2 separate regions of the Homo sapiens genome follow, and region 1 is linked to region 2. The links are contacts of gene promoters, found by promoter capture Hi-C in human tissues and cell types (Jung and others, 2019). All regions are on one chromosome and are shown on one strand. Each heading gives the region's core, a stretch centred on a gene start or on the middle of the fragment in contact. The rest is flanking DNA. Distances are from core to core; before and after follow the strand shown.

The links. Contacts are between HindIII fragments. The study calls those that stand out against the background at their distance.
Region 1: a contact is called between a fragment that was not itself captured here and the fragment with the promoter of CCDC136 in region 2, in 1 of the 25 tissues and cell types used here (lymphoblastoid cells).

Annotation. Positions count from the first base shown.
Region 1 is chr7:129,102,954-129,106,117 of GRCh38, forward strand. LOC124901863 (U4 spliceosomal RNA) reads right to left here and starts at 747; the gene lies at 602-747. It also overlaps the pseudogene LOC112267982. The HindIII fragment of the contact is 8,145 bases long and covers 1-3,164 here.
Region 2 is chr7:128,790,672-128,793,782 of GRCh38, forward strand. It overlaps CCDC136 (coiled-coil domain containing 136), which reads left to right and starts at 1,297. Exons shown (of 18, transcript NM_022742.5): 1 at 1,297-1,756. The coding sequence starts at 1,741. RefSeq lists silencers at 404-873, 412-680. The HindIII fragment of the contact is 16,505 bases long and covers 1-3,111 here.

The DNA of each region.
Region 1 (3,164 bases), core at 412-2,911, 310 kb after region 2:
AACACTGCACCAAAGCCTCTGCTGTCTCATGCTAGCCTGCTTCGTTGGCATCATTTTTTGACCTTCCTGGCCTCATACTTTGCGGGCAAGGAAAATCATAGAATAATTTCTGTTTTCCTGACCTATTGAGAAACTCTGAAATGGTTTGTGCCCCTCATGTAGTCAGAGAGACCCTAAACAGAATCCATTCTGCTGTATTCCTCATGGGACCATTTGGAATACAACAGACCCCAGCAGGCATCAATCATCTGCCATTTCAGCTAAGGAAGGAGAGAGTGAGCCTCTCTTTCATGGCATTCGGTTTCCTGGCTCTGGATTTGACCTATGCGCAAACTTCCAGGGTGGCTTGAGCATAATGATGCTATCAACCAGCTCAGATGCCCTAGGAGGTGGCCTTACAGAAATGGTAGACTTGTGGTATGGCACAAATGTAGGCTGGCTACCTGTCTACACCTGCTCACCAGTCTGGCCAAGCCCTGAGACTGGCTGGGCCTGTCCACAGCACTGAGGCCCATGGGGACAACTATAGCTGTGTGTATGCCCATACAGTTAAGTGTCCTTTATGCTATGGGGTGGGACTTGCTGTGTGCCCCTCCTCCAATAACCTGCCAATTCCAATCATTCTGTACCTTCCTCTTTTTCTTCATGCTGGCCTTTTTCTCCCCCCAGCTTTTTTTGAATTTCAATTAGCAATAATCATGCCTTGGATAAACCTCATCGGCTACAATACTGCCACTGTGCAAAGCTCTGGCCTTTTTTTTTTTTTTCTGCAGGAAAGTATCCATGGGCCAAACCACAAAAGTTTTGAATCTTGAGCCAGTTCATCAACCAGGGCCAGTCCAATGAACCCAGACACAAACACACTCAGGCTTCTGGTTTTGGTGAATGTCAATGCCAGACACACTGTAGTGGGGATGAGGGGCGGAAAGGGGTTTGTCCCACATGAGACCCCATGGCAGCTGGCCGTGGAACTTGGGAAGCCATTGTCATTTTTATCACCCATTTGTCACAATAATACTGAGCCTCACCTGTTTCAAGATCTCAGGGTGGTGCCCTGGAACCTCAAGTGGTGGCATCCTCCTCAGCCACCTGCTGGCATCACTTACAGGCCACCTCCATCCTCCCAGTCACACTTCACTTTCTGACCCTGGCCTTCATCCAGTCCAGTCCAGGTCACTGGCCAAACACATGTGTTTTTAGGGTAAATAATTGCTTATGAGTGACCATCTTCCATCAGCCTCATGCCAACTGCTGCTCGTATTTATACACACTGTCCAGCACTGGGTAAAGCACTGAGTAGGCTCTTTATATGGGGTATCTATTTTCATTATCACTGTGCTATGTGGTGCTTCCTAAATACAAAGTTTTTGAGTTCAGAACCATCTATCTTTCAGTTCTCAGTGTGGCATTCCAACTGCAATGTAATATCTTGCCATGGCCTCAAATTCAACATAATTTTTTTTTTGGTTTTTTGTTTTGTTGTTGTTTTTTTTTTTTTGAGATGGAGTCTTGCTCTGTCGCCCAGGCTGGAGTGCAGTGGCACGATCTCGGCTCACTGCAAGCTCCGCTTCCTGGGTTCACACCATTCTCCTGCCTCCGCCTCCCGAGTAGCTGGGACTACAGGCGCCCGCCACCACGCCCTGCTAATTTTTTTGTATTTTTAGTAGAGATGGGGTTTCACCGTGTTAGCCAGGATGGTCTCGATCTCCTGACCTCGTGATCCGCCTGCCTCGGCCTCCCAAAGTGCTGGGATTGCAAGCGTGAGCCACCATGCCCGGCCTTTGTTTTTGTTTTGAGACAGTCTTGCTTTGTCGCCCAGGCTGGAGTGCAATGGCCCAATCTTGGCTCACTGCAACCTCCACCTCCCAGGTTCAAGCAATTCTTGTGCCTTAGCCTCCTGAGTAGCTGGGATTACAGACGTGCACCACCGCCACACCCGGATAATTTTTGTATTTTTAGTAGAGACGGGGTTTCGCCATGTTGGGCTGGCTGGTCTCGAACTCCTGGCCTCAAGTGATCCACCCACCTTGGCCTCCCAAAGTGCTGGGATTACAGGCATGAGCCACCATGCCTGGCCCAAAATCAAAATAATTAAAAGTGAATTCATTCCCTCCAAATCAGGTTTTTCCTTCCATCTCCTCTATTTCTGTTACCAATTTCTCAGTCCCTGGGATTAAAAAACCTGAAAATCTTCCCTCTAAATCCTCTCTAACAATTATCTCTCATATTTAATCAGTTTTCTGATACTTTAGACTAGATTCTTTTTGAATGCTTCCCTAACCCAGTAGTTCTCAACACTGGTTGTCCATTAGAATTATTAGAGGAGCCATTTTAAAATAAATATGTGGGTCATGCCTGGGGCCACCTCCCTCAGACAGCTGTGTAGGTTATTCACTGCACTAGGGTGAGGGGGTTGTTCCAGCTCACGCTCTCCTTGCTAAGCCTTTGGCCCTAGCATGGAACTACCTTTGACTGGAGAAAAGGAAGCTTTTTTGAACTCACACAAAGGCACTGTAAGGGCTAAGAAAGGTCTGGCCATTTCCCTGAAATTCTGATTCAGCAGACGTAGGCATTTATATTTTAAATAGTTCAGTGAGATATATAAACTTTACTCTTAAATAGTGGTGTTCCTTTCTCCCTCTTTTTGTGATATTATTGTTACACATATTGCTTCTTTGTATCATAAATCCAACAGTATGGTGTTATAATTATTACTTTTTAATTTTTATTTAATTTTTTTTTAATTGAGACAAGGTCTCACTATTTTGCCCAGGCTGGTCTCGAACTCCTGGCCCATCTTGACCTCCCAAAGTCCTGGGATTACAGGCATAAGCCACTGTACCTGGCTATAATTATTACTTTGAAAGAACCTGAGAGAAGAAGACCAAGTACATATTTATAGAGTTAGTTATATTAATCTTATTTACCCTTCCTGTTCCTCTTGATTTCTTCCTATGGATTTCAGTTCCTATCTGCTGTTATTTCCTCACTCCCATATAGCTTTGCTCCCACCTGCCTCCTTTGTGCTGTTATTGTCAAGTATATTACATTTTTACATGTCATCGTCCTAAAAATATAATTCCATACATGTTATTTTACACAGCTGCTTTTTATGTGAACTCTAACTCGAAAACCATAAAATTCACCCCTCGATGATTATTGGT
Region 2 (3,111 bases), core at 47-2,546:
GTGCCCACTCTGAGCGGGCTACTGTGGGGGCGTGGCTCGCAGCCCACCGGGTGTGGGACCGGAAGGGAAGACAGGGCGGAGGAGAGGGGGTCTTCCGGCCCTGAGGCTTGATGGGGCCACCGGAGGGCTCCTCCTAAGAGGGTCCTTGGCCCTGGCTCGGTGGGGGGTCGCGGAAAGCGGAGAGGTCAGGGCCCTGCCGTTCGCCCATCCGGGCCTCGACTTCCCTCCTCCGGCCCCCAGGCTGCCGAGGGGCCACCGGGCAGGGGTGGGCAGGGCCTGGGGCCGGAGTCAGCGCGGACTGCTAGGTGGGGGCGCCGGCCGGGCGGGGGAGGGAGGGAAGGAGGGGCGCGCGTGTCTGCGCTTTTGGAGGAAACAGTCCCACCTCGTCCTTTGCCGTCCCCATTGCTGAGCATGACCGGGCCCTGACACCTGGTGCAGAAGGGTCCCTGGGCACAGCAGACCCCGGGGGGACCCGCCGCCAGAACCAGGGGATCTCGCTCCTCCCTCTTGGGGCAGCCATAAGCCTAGGAGCTCCTGACGCTGTCCGGGCCCCGCGGCTCCCCGCGCTCTCTAGGGGAGAGCCTTGGGGCGTATCCGGGGTCGCGCTCACCCTCCCGCGCCGCCCCCTGCACGGGCTCGGAGCTCCCGAGTGCTGGGAGGGCTTCCGGGCGGCGGCGAGCGGCGGGGGGCGGTGTCAGGAGGCCCGGCCAGGCCCCGCCCCCTCGTCCGCCCTCCCTCCCTCCCTGCGCACCCGGCTCGGGTCCCCGGGCTCGCGGCTGCGGCTTCTGCTCAGGGAGGCGGAAGGCGGCGGCGGGAGCGGTCATGGAGGCGGGCGCCGGAGCCGGCGCGGGAGCCGCGGGCTGGAGCTGCCCGGGCCCAGGTCAGAGCCGCCCCTCCGTCACCTGTCTACCGCCCCTCCTTTCTCTCCTCCATCCCTCCTCCTTCCAGACCCCCAGGTGCTCCCGGCCTCCGCGGCTCCCCTTTCTCCGCCCAAAGTCTTCCTCCCTCCATCCTGGCCTCCACCGGGGCCCGGTCTCCATCCTTCCGGCCTGGGACTGAGGCTTCCGCGCACCGGCCGCATCCTGCCTGGTGGTCCCTCCCCAGCGCGTCTCTCCACTTCAGTCCGACGGTGCTTCCAGCCTTCGGGACTGCAGACCCTACACCTCCTGCAGCCCCGGAGACTCCTGAGCGCGGGGCGAGGGTGGGGTGGGCAAGGTCCAGCGAGAGAATGGGAGGAGAGGGGAGGGGAGCGGTCGCAGCCCTACCCCTTCCCGCACGCCCCCCACTCCTCCCTCCCTCCATCTGTAGGCCACCTCAGCCTTTCAGCCTCTTCTTCACTGGCTCCCGCCCTCTTTCAGTCTTGGCCCTCTCCTCCCTGTCCCCCCGGACTAAATACGCACACCCCCTCTTTCTTTCTGTGCAAGCAAGAGGGTCCTGGAACAGCGGGTTCTGAGGAGGCTGGGAGGCAGGGCTGAGAGGTGGCCGAGAGAGAGGAGTCGCAGAGCCGCCAGAGTGAGTCAGGCACCTCCACTGGGATTACAGATCCCAGAGCCTCGAGGAGCTGGAAGACATGTCCCCTTCTTTCCTCTGCACCCCAGCCCGCAGCCAGCCCCCCACCCCCCAGCCCCTCCTTTCTCCCTGCTCTCAGGACCCACAGTGACCACTCTAGGCTCCTATGAGGCTTCCGAGGGCTGTGAGAGGAAGAAGGGCCAACGCTGGGGGTCCCTGGAACGACGGGGGATGCAAGCTATGGAGGGTGAGTTTTCCCAAAAGGCTTCTTTCTTTCCCCTCCCCTCCTCCCTTAATTCCCTTCTTTCCTCCCTCTGACCCCCAGGCCTCTGAGCCAGGACACAGCCCTTCCCTCAGTTCATCTTAGCCCCTCTTCCTGCAGCTCAGAGCTCCAGCCCTTCCCAGGGCTCAGGCTTTGACAGAAGTTCAGGATGCATCCCTTCGGGACCCCAATCACCCCCCAGCTAACCAGGTTATGTGTCCCGAGGGAGCTGCCAGACAGAGAAAGAGGCCTTGTTGGACAGAGCTTTGAAGCAGCCTTTCAGCAGGGGGTTTGTCCTCACTGCCTGCCGACCCAGATCCCAAGCTGTCTCTTATTTTAAAAAGCAAGGAACTGGGCATGTGAATTGTCTTTCTGGGGCCACCAACATTAACTTCGAATGGAAGCCTGTGGCTTTGGTTCTTTAGGATACCTTATTGCCTGAAAGAGAGAGCCTAGGAGGGGGCGCGTGAGGCCATCCTCCCAACACACGTGTATCCCCACCACACCCATGTGACTTGGCAGTTGCTGCCAACACCAGGCCCCTGGAAGGACGCTGGTCCATTTGCCAGTACTTCCTGTGAAGTGTTGCACGTTGCACATTCAGTATGGGCAAACCTGCTCCCCCTAAGGGGGACAGATGGCACGAAGGGTCCCAGTTGAACCTAAGGCTGCTGATATTAGATAAAGTAAGACCAGAGATTCAGAATTTTAAAACAAAGCAAACAATCACCATCCAGACAACATTTTGCTATTTATAGGGACTGCGTTGCAGTAAAGGAGCGGGTGCTCACAACCAGAGGCTGGGGGCCAGCACCAAACCCCAGTTTTTTTAATGCATTAAAATGGTAGGCTTTCTTTTACACACAAGTACAGCCTAAAACTTCCCCTGAAATCTACTTTGTGGTCAGCAGAGTAGGAGGGGCCTCATATGGCTCAGCTAGGGGAGAGGAGACCTTGTGACATGCAGCAGGGAAAAACAAGGTGGACCTTGTAGAAAATTTCAAACAGGTATTTAATAATATACATTTGAAAGGGCGCCCGAGTTTGTCCAATGAAACCTCTACAATCAGATATTTTCTTTCTCTACCTGCTGACGGGCAATGTTTTCTTATTATGGAAAGGCTGATTTTTCACAAGCCACCTGGATAGTTTTTGTTTGGTTGTTTTTGTTTGTTTGTTTGTTTGAGACGGAGACTCACTCTGTTGCCCAGGCTGGAGTGCCAGTGGCTCGATCTCGCCTCACTGCAACCTCCAGTTCCCAGGTTCAAGCGATTCTCCTGCCTTAGCCTCCCAAGTAGCTGGGATTACAGGCGTGTACTACCACGCCCAGCTAATTTTTT